2 separate regions of the Homo sapiens genome follow, and region 2 is linked to region 1. Evidence: promoter capture Hi-C in human tissues and cell types (Jung and others, 2019). All regions are on one chromosome and are shown on one strand. The core of a region is centred on a gene start or on the middle of the fragment in contact, and the rest is flanking DNA. Distances in the headings are between cores, read along the strand shown.

What was found. The method cuts DNA at HindIII sites, captures the fragments that hold promoters and counts their contacts. A contact is called where the count stands out against the background at its distance.
Region 2: a contact is called between a fragment that was not itself captured here and the fragment with the promoter of TFAP2D in region 1, in 3 of the 25 tissues and cell types used here (adrenal gland, neural progenitor cells and stomach).

The regions. Positions count from the first base shown.
Region 1 is chr6:50,710,350-50,715,392 of GRCh38, reverse strand. TFAP2D (transcription factor AP-2 delta) reads right to left here and starts at 1,867. Exons shown (of 8, transcript NM_172238.4): 1 at 1,299-1,867; 2 at 1-277. The coding sequence starts at 1,337. RefSeq lists an enhancer at 1-133. The HindIII fragment of the contact is 8,496 bases long and covers 299-5,043 here.
Region 2 is chr6:50,776,610-50,781,433 of GRCh38, reverse strand. No RefSeq gene overlaps it. Among named protein-coding and RNA genes, the nearest start is that of TFAP2B, 40 kb to the left of the region's middle. RefSeq lists a silencer at 1,372-1,572. The HindIII fragment of the contact is 3,917 bases long and covers 1-3,875 here.

The DNA of each region.
Region 1 (5,043 bases), core at 618-3,117:
GGATCTGCTGGTAGTACTGTTGCGAGTGGTGGAGAGAGTTCAGAGAGTAGGCGTCGGGGGTGACGGCCGGGTGGCTGTGCTGAAACTCGTAATGGAAGGACTGGTGGTGGAGCGGGGTGTACTGGTGGTTAGTGGAGAAGTAGGGGGACGCAAACTCGGTGCCGGTGGTGGAGTAAGTTAAAGGAGAGGAGGAGGAATAGGCGACAGTGGAATTGGCTACTGACTCCAGACAGCCAAGCTGCATCAAACGGTAGCTGTTTGATCCGTCGTGACGTATCTGGAAGGAAGAGGGGGAAAAGGGAGAGCAGAAAAACTTGAGGTTTGTCATTTTGCAACCAAGGCGCCGCTCTCCCGGAGCCAGGAGCTTTCTCTGGCACTCCAAGGAAAGCGAGCGCGTAGGACTCGGGCCGAGCCGAAGCCGGGTCTCAGCGTCTTCACCAGAGAGCCTTTGCAAACAGGCGAACTGGGGGTGGGCGGCCTCGTCCTCACAGTCGAGAGAGCGGAAAAAAAATCCCCCACCCTATATAGGTGCGGGTGACACCACACACGCACACACACGCACAGACACACACACACAGACACACACACAGCCCCTGCCCAACTTGTGCAGGGAGCTTGGCGTTGGGATCCAGGTTTGCAACTGACTCCGGGGCCGCGGGTAGCAGAGGAACGAGTCCACCCGAAAAGAGCGCTGGCCCGGGGCGCCTTGCCACTCTAACTAGACCCCAGCATCGAAATTCTGCGCCTGTCTATGCCGAGATGTTCGGCCCGGGCTGCTCAAAATCATTGTCCATATATTTTAAAAAATCCAGTCTGTGCAAATCGTTCAACTTGCTCCCTTCCTTAGTCATTCGAGGGAGGGAATCCGACTCCCTCTTTTCTGCTTCCCTTTCCTTGAATAAGCCCATTCCAAAAGGGGTGCGTTTTCCCCATCCCCCTTGTGCATCTACTGCTTCCCCACCAGTCCCTTTTCTTTGCTTTTCTGAGAATCTTTCTTTCCGTCTCTATCTCTTTCTCTTCACTCCCCCCTTTTATTATTAAGATTATGTTTTCCCGCTCATTATGGCAAATGTTTCTTAACGTGGCAGAGAGTTGCCCTCCCTGGCGACAGATGTCATAACGAACTTTCTCCCCTTTCCTTCCTTAACTTCCCCCGAAAGACAGATTATAATTAAACGTAACGGTCCAATATAGATTAGAGACAGGGGAGGCTGCCACCGCCGCCGCCACCGCCGCCACCGCCGCCGCCGCCACACACACGCGCGCTCAAAAAAAAAAAAAAAAAAAAGTAATAATACCTCGGCATCGTGGACTAGTCCCGGAAAGGTAGTTGACATGTTGGGTTTCTCCGAAAGCTTACGATGCAATTTCCCCCTCCAAAAAAAGAATCGGGAAAAAAAAATCCAAACTTCTTGTATTTTCCAATTTTTAAAGGAAAAAAAAAATGTTCTATAGGTAGATATCTAAATTGTAATGGTTTTGCCCGGATCAGATAGCTCCTTGCCTCGTACCCACTTAAAAACCTGTAGGAACAAAATTTTCCCTCTGCACAAAAGCAGCTCCCTGGAACAGATTTTGTACTTGCTGAGTATTTCTTTGGCTGATGTCGTAGGTCCCTTGGTAATATAGAAGTTTTGAAAATTAAGCATCAGCACTGAGAACTGGGAGGACAATAGGCAGAAGAGATTTATCCCAGGAGACAAGGAATAAATATTGTATCTTCGCCTAATAAGGAACTGGAGGTTCTTTCAACATTTTTATCCATTTTTTCCAACCTTTATCATGCTTTTCTATACCGACTGAGGTGGGGACTTATCTCTGTGGAGAGTATTTGCACACATTTTATTGTGAAGCTAGAGCTCTAGCTCCAATATATGTATATTAGAGATAGAAATATATATTAATTAAAGCTTCCTTTTATATGGGGAAGTGTTCATTCCTATTGGTTCCACTCCCTGGATGCTGAAAGCTGCTTTTTCCAACAACCACCCGAATCAATTTTGCCCAGATTGGGGTGTCTGCCTTCGCCCAAGTGGAAACAATGCTGGTCTTTCCATATTTACATTGAATTTGGGTTCTTTCCCCTTTTTTGAAAGGCAAAATCAAGCGGTGGCTTACACTTTTCAGCAGCTTTAAAAATAAATAATGGTGATGGACAGTCCCAAGTTTCCATCATCAGGAAATGGTGTAACTGGCAATGCATTTAGGAAAAATGCAAGGGAATAAAGATGTAAGACAAGATTCTACATTTAGGTAAACTGTTGTCTTTCACTCCCCAAACCAAACCATATCCCCCCTCTTTTGTGTTTTTCTTCTTCCCTTTTGGAAACACTGCTGGTGGTGGTGGGGTGTAGACCGTTCAGCAGTAGCATTAGGTTTTTGAACACTATTACCCCCAAAATAACCCTTAAATGCTTGGAAGTTATATTTTATAAATAGAGGGCAGGAAGGAAGCAGTGCACACATATTTCCATCTCTTCAGTGGATTTCTTGACTTTCAAACAGTTTTTGAGCTTTCCTTCCTTCAAAATTCAGCTTCCTCCACCAAGTTGTTTAGTGCCTGGAGGGGGTGGTGGTAGCTATAAACCTGAAATACTGAGGCTTTGCTCCTCAGTGTCTACATTATAAGAAAGAACTGGCTGGCCCCACAGACTCATCTCATAGATAGAAGGGGTAATTCAGTCTTAATTGCCATTTCATTTGGTTTGCTTTTAAGTGTTTAAGCTGAGAAGGTGTCTTAATAATAAGCCTCAGGCAAACAGGCATGTGGCTTTTTTTTTTTTTAGGTTGGGGTTTGGGAGGGTTTATTAGGATCTGCTCATGCAGGCTAACTGGGGCTGTCACTCAGAGCTCTTTGCTTTATACAAATGGACAAAGGCACACGACAAGAATTGAAATGCATTGTCTGAAATGGAGATACACGATTCTTCAGCCCCACATGGGGTCAGCAGCCAACACTTGTTCCCTATTTCAAGGTGTGCCAGTGCTGCCCCCCTCCCACCCCTCCTTGAAATTCCATATTTTGGCCTAATGAAGTAAGGAGACTGAGAGACCAATGATGACAAAAAGGAAGAATATCCAACTTAATCTTTAAGTAAAAGGGGTAAAATGAGTGCTGTTGGCTCTAGGGGTTGAATCCCAAAAATGTTTGCAGTGGAGTCTTTGTTTACCAGGTCTGAGTGGGGCCTCCATAGCTTACCCACGGAGAAAATAACTAATCATCTCTGGGAGATGGAGACTGCCCCCACGACCTTAACTCAGGCACCCCTGCCCCTGGGAAAGTGCAGACCATTCCCTGGAAGAATATGTAGGACTTGCAGGTTATCTTGGGGAATGCCCAGGTGCGCTTTTCCTGGTGGATGATATTGGCTTCCCAGTTAGTCCCGGTCAAATGGAAGAGGATAGCCCTTCTCAGACATGTTGCAATCTCCTTTCCAACACCCCTACTGTCAGATACACCTTCATTGAAGGTGACGGTACCTTCTCTTCCCAGTTTAGGTCCAGGCAGCAGACACAAAACCCTCTCCCCGGGGAACAACAATGAGGAAGCTCAGGAAGATGTGGCCGCCTGCTCTGCCTGCTGGCCCAGAGTGTTTGTTCCACATGTTTGTCCCTGTCTGGAATAAGAGCCACACATAGCCCCCCTCACCCCTGCCACCGCACTCAGAAGATATAGCTTTATGATACTCTCGGTAATGAGCTCTGGCCTTGAACTGAGTACACCCCATGGAATGACCTCCAGTAGCCTGGACCCTGTGAACATCAGGACATCACCAACTAACTGGCAATCATCGCATTCCACCCCCTAACCCCACTTTCATGGTTCACTTTCCTGAGTGACTTTTAGGTATCCAAACAAAGAGTGTCCAGGGTTTAACTTACATGCTTGTTGAACTCTTGTGGACATGAGGGGAAACTAAAGATCCTGAAGAGTGAGAAAAGACCCTTTCATTTGTACTTAAGGAAAATGAAGCAGGAAGGATAAAATGGCTCTCTTTTAGTTTTGAGATTTCCCTTGCCAGGGCCCTTGACTACCTTAGAAAGCATCCCTCTTAACCCTATGTCTTGGCTTCCCACACCAGCATCTGAACTGCAGGGAAACTTCATTTGGCCAACTGCTCCCTCCCACTTCATTCCAACTTAAAAAAATAAAAAAGCTGTTTTCCCCTGAAAGAAACAAAGTTGAGGAAATCATCCATGCCATATGCACATATTGGTCAGCGCTCCCTTCCATCTGCTCTGGGGTTGCTCAGCGCGCCCCTTTTCTAAAGAAACTCATTGAGGCAGGTGTGTGGTGTGTTTGGTGCCTGTGTGTGTGTGTGTGTGTGTGATGTGATGTGTGTGTGTGTAGCGTTCATTTCTGTCAGACACCCCCCCATCCAATTAATAGTCTTGAGCAATTAATAAGTGTCGTCTGACTTGACCCAAAGACTGGGCTTTTTAGCAAAGTTGATTCCTCTTTCTCTGTTTTACTTCTTTTCCAGAGAGTGATTGGTCACTCATTTTCCAGCGGGTGGCATAATTGAATTAACTGGCCACAGCACTCTGGTGACTATTGCCTGGGGCCCCCTCCAACAGGGAACCCGTGGTGTGCATTCCAGCCTCAGTCAGAGGCCAGGCCGGCGTCAGTCACTCAAAATAGCCGGCAAGAGCATGGTGGACACGCTGCTGGCCTTGCACCCCAAAAGCTGAAAAGGTTGTTCCTCAGCACTTAGTTCTCCTGTTCTTCCTTCTGGTTCCATGCTCCACATGCCAGGAAGGAATGTCTTATGGCAGTCACTTTAGGAATCTGCAAAGAAATCTTTATATATATATATATCATTATTGTCTTGGTTAGAATCCAGAGCTGGAAGAGTTTTGGGGTAGTTGCAAATTCCTTCCTGGGCTTCTAGGCCAGCGTTATACAAATCACTCCAATCTCAACATCCAATCTCAAACATCTTTACAGTTTTCACCCAATCTCAAACATCTTCACTGAAAGAGTTTGCCACTCCACTGTGTGTTTGAGGTTGGTGAACAATTACAAACGAACTCATGCCTATC
Region 2 (4,824 bases), core at 668-3,167, 66 kb before region 1:
ATATTGGCAAACTCTTAGATTGTGAAGAGTTTCAGGAATTCCAAGAAGCTTAATGTGGCTAGACAATGGACTGTGTGTGTGGGGAGGGGATGATGTGGGGGAAACAGGGAAGCAAGATAAAGCTGAAAGGGACTGGAGAAGAGAGCAAGGCCAAGTCAGAATGATATATTGTCAATTGTATAGAAGTTTGACTTTGTCATAAGGGCAATAGCAAGCCATGAAGAGGATTATTTGGGATGTGCAAATCATATTTACTTTTTACAATGAATCTCTCCAGTGAGGAGAATGGAATAAAAAGCAGGACTGGAGGCAGAAAATCCAGTTAGGAGGCTACTGCAGTAATGCAATCATGAGTTGCTAGTGCCCGGAACTAAGTGATTGGCTATCTGATAGTCATATTCACTAGGTCCTGACAAATTAATTACTTACTTTATTTATTTATTTATTTTGAGACAGAGTCTCGCTCTGTCACCCAGGCTAGAGGGCAGTGGCGTGATCTCGGCTCACTGCAACCTCTGCCTCCCAGGTTCAAGCGATTCTTGTGCCTCAGTCTCCCGAGTAGCCCAGATTACAGGCAATCACCACCACACTCAGCTAATTTTTTGTATTTTTAGTTGAGATGGAGTTTTGCCATGTTGCCTTGGCTGGTTTCGAACTCCTGAACTCAGGCAATCCCCATGCCTTGACCTCCCAAAGTGCTGGGATTACAGGCGTAAGCCACCGCACCCAGCCAAGTTAATTTATTATAATATTTTTATATTAATTTATCAGAATCTAGTGATTAACTGTAAGAGAGGATAGAGATAAGGATAGTTAAGATGGTTCACAAGTTTCTGTCTTGCGCAACTGTATGGAGTTGTCTTTAGCAAACATAGAAAATTTGGGATGTGTAATTAGTTGAGGGAGGTTGATTAGGATTCCATATTTTAATGTGTGTTGAGTTCGAAGATGCTATTTTTCATAAGATGATAATAACCATTGAAAATGGACAACATGGATCTGGAGTGCGGAAGAATATTATGGATTTATAATTCATTAGCATTGTGCCAAGACAGGCAAGCTACAGTAGTAAATACACCCTCCCAGCCTCCCTCATCCCAATTTCAGTGGCTTAAAATAATATATGTTTAGGTCAAAATAATGTGTGCTTCTTCTCCATGTGGCCATTCCGGGATCCAGGTACTCTCTATCTTGTGTCTCTGCCATCTGTAAAACAGTGGCTGTCAACTGTGAGTGATTTAGCAATGTTTGGAGATAATTTGGCTCCTTATAATTGTGAGGGATGCTACTGAAGTCTACTGCATAGAAACCAAAAATCTACTAAACATCCTGCAGCACACAAGATAGCTCTCATAATAAAGAATTATCTGGCCCCAAATGTGCCAGATAATTCTTTATCAATAGTGCCAAGGTGGAGAATCCTTGCTCTGAACTTTATCATATAACTCATGTAGAAGAGGACAGAACACAGAGAAAAGTGCATGACTGATTTTTACTGGTAAATCCTGGAAGTAGCAAGTATCACTCCCACTCTTCCTCTGGAGATAACTTAATCGCATGGCTGCAAACAACAAGAAGTTTAGTCTAGGTCAGAGATTGGCAAACTATGGCCCTCAGGAATAATCCAATCCGCTGCCTACTTTTGTAAATGATGATTTATCAGAACACAGTCATGGCCGTTTGTTTACATATTGTCTATAGCTACTTTCATGCTACATCAGCAGAGTTGAGTAGTTGCAACAGAGACCACATGGCCTGCATAGACTAAAATATTTACTATTGGGCCCTTTATTTAAAAAAAATTGCCAATCTCTCATATGGGAATATACGGCAGGACAAAGGAAAACTGGACTTTGTTAGATGACAATTGGTCTCTGCCATGAGAAAAGACATGTAATTGAAATTATGGTAGAACATTATGTTGCCCAGGGAGAACGCTGATGGTGAGAAAACAAAAGACAATATTTAAACCCACAGTTAGGTTTTATTGACAGTAAGACATCATGACTCAACTTGGAAGGAAGACTAAACATAAATTTATATCATACCTCTGTGCCTGTTTTCCAAATAGCTCTTGATATAAAAAAATTAAGGAAATGCAATATTAAAGAATAGCTTTGAAAACTTACAATAGGTTCTAACTGGCAATAACCAACATGGCCACATTAAACTTTTTTCTTCTGACTCTTATGGGGATTTATTTAGTTATTTCAATTTTTCTTAAGTGTCTTGGTCTTATTAAATTATGATGCAAATGGGAAGTAGCTGAAATAGATAATTTACTTGTGTAGTAGGTGTGTCTGCCAATTTGGCTATATGAAAAATGTCACTTTATTTTCTATAATGTGACTTAATTTCTATTTTTGAGCCTTCATTTGGAAATGTGGCAGAAATTAGCTCTCAGTACACTCAGGGTCTTCCTGGGTTACATATGTGTCCCAGGGTTTCATGGGGAGGGCTTATGTAGCACCAGACATGGAGGAACATCTGGCCTAGGTCTTCATCTGTTGATGCTGGCTTCTGTATTTTGTGATGCTAGGCCTGGAAGTCTGCCAACTACATTTCTCATAACCCTTTGCAAGCTGGATTCTAATTTGGTTCTGCAATGGGGCACAGATGGGAAGTGGAAGGAAGGAAGAAAGGGGGGAAAGGATGTTCCAGCATATTTCCAGTTCCTGCTATCATCCTTCCAGCAGAAGAGGTAGGTTAAGGCTCCAGCTTCCAGCTTCTTTTGCACTCCCAGAATTAGGACGCTCTACCCTCTCAAAAAATCTGCCAGCATTAATCTTGAGGTGGGTTCTCTCAGAGAGAGGTTCAAGCAACACCCATGGGTAGGGGTGTGCTTGCTTCAAAGTTCCTACATTCACGTAACTTTACTTCCTTACTTTTGTTTCCCCATTTCTGGGGATGGTAGCTGCTTTTTCAATTACGAGCATTTGGGTGACTCAGTGTCTCATTTTTGCTCTTTCGGCCTTCTAACACTTGTTTAACTCATTCTCTTTGAAATCCCTGAGTAGGGGGAAGGTCTGAATTCCTATCTAGTCTTTGATTGGCATGTCTCAGGTTTTTCTTGTGTGTCCTTATGTTCAACCTATGAGGAATCTGCATACTTGCCAGCTATCTGGATTGCTCTTGGGTGAACCTGAAATATTCAAGTGCTGCTTCCTTTGTTCCTCTTGCATCCACATCATGCTAGTCTGTCCCTGCCATCTTGAAATAAACTCCTTAGGAGAAATGTGAGTCTGTCTGAGTGCCACCTGCCTAGATGCACATCACATAGACAGCTCTTTGCTTCTGTACTGTGCTGGGCTTTCTTCCTCCGCTGGGCTTTTCTCTGGGATGAGGACATAATTCCACCTCTATAACAAGATTCACACCCCAACCTCACCCCCAGGACATGGCCCTATCTCAGAGATGCAATGCTACACTAAGCTTTAAACAATTATCCTTTGGCCGGGCGCAGTGCCTCATGCCTGTAATCCTAGCACTTTGGGAGGCCGAGGTGGGTGGATCACCTGAAGTCAGGAATTCAAGAGCAGCCTGGCCAACATGGCAAAACCCCATCTCTACTAAAAATACAAAAATTAGCTGGGCGTGGTGGCACATACCTGTAATCCCAGCTACTCAGGAGGTTGAGGCAGGAGAATCGCTTGAACCCAAGAAGCGGAGGTTGCAATAAGTCGAGATTGTGCCACCGTCTCTAGCCTGGGCGACAGAGCAAGACGCCATCTCAAAAAACAAGCAAACAACAACAAAAAAAACTCCTTCTTCTTTGTTCTTTCCCCAACCTATGGATTATTTTCTGGTCTCCAGTGTGTGTGGTGTTGTGGGGGAGGTTTCGGAGCGGGTGGAAGTAATAAGGTCCTGACTGAGATGCTTTTAAATCTCAAGTCCCCTCTAGAGCCTAAGATTTTGAAACTGAAAATTTTTATGAAAGTTTCTTTAAAACTTTTGTTGCCTCCATTCTTCTGGGTCACATTCCTTCCCTGAGGCAGTGCAGGCAACATGTTAGCTGCCCCAAAATGTGGAAGGAAGGTAGGAATAACCAGAAATACAAGGTGTGTCTGTTAGTTTTCAAAATAGCTTACTGCCCCAAATGTTTTTAAGTCTCCTAGAATCCTAAAGCCCTTTTTCCCGATCTCTAGCTTCCCATTTCCCTGATCACAACTCTCCTCCTCAATTTTTCACTCTCCCATCTCCCCCCATCTCCTGTTTCCTAGATCCTGGTCTGGCTTGTGCTGGGCACCCTGTGTGTATTTTCATCATGACACATACCATATTCTAATGGCTATTATCTTCATAGGAGAATATGAGAAGCTTGACATCAATAAAAATATTCTATTCCACTCTGTATCTTCAGTCTCTAGGACGAAGTCTGGCATAGAAAGGGTACAATAAGCTGAAGACAAACTGATCTCTAGATAAAAAATGATTTGTCCAAATTCTAAGTATTAAAGACAGTAGCTAATATTCACATAGCACTAACATGCCCCTTTTCTGCTCTAAACAGTTTAGATACACCAAGTCTTTGATTCTGACAGTAATTCTGTGAGTAGGTATCTATTATCATCCTCATTTTACAGATGGGAAAATGGAGGAGGCACAGAGAGGTGTGGCAACTTGCTCAGAGTCAGGCAGTAGCAAGTAAGAGAGCCTTGATTTGAACCAGATAGTTTGGCTTTCTAGTCCATACTCTTAGACACTATAGGTCATGACACCTCTCACATACTGACTTGGTTTTTGTAAGGAGATGGCACACTCATTGTGTAAAGAATTCAAATATGTATGTGTGTGTGTGTATATATATATATATATATATTTTAA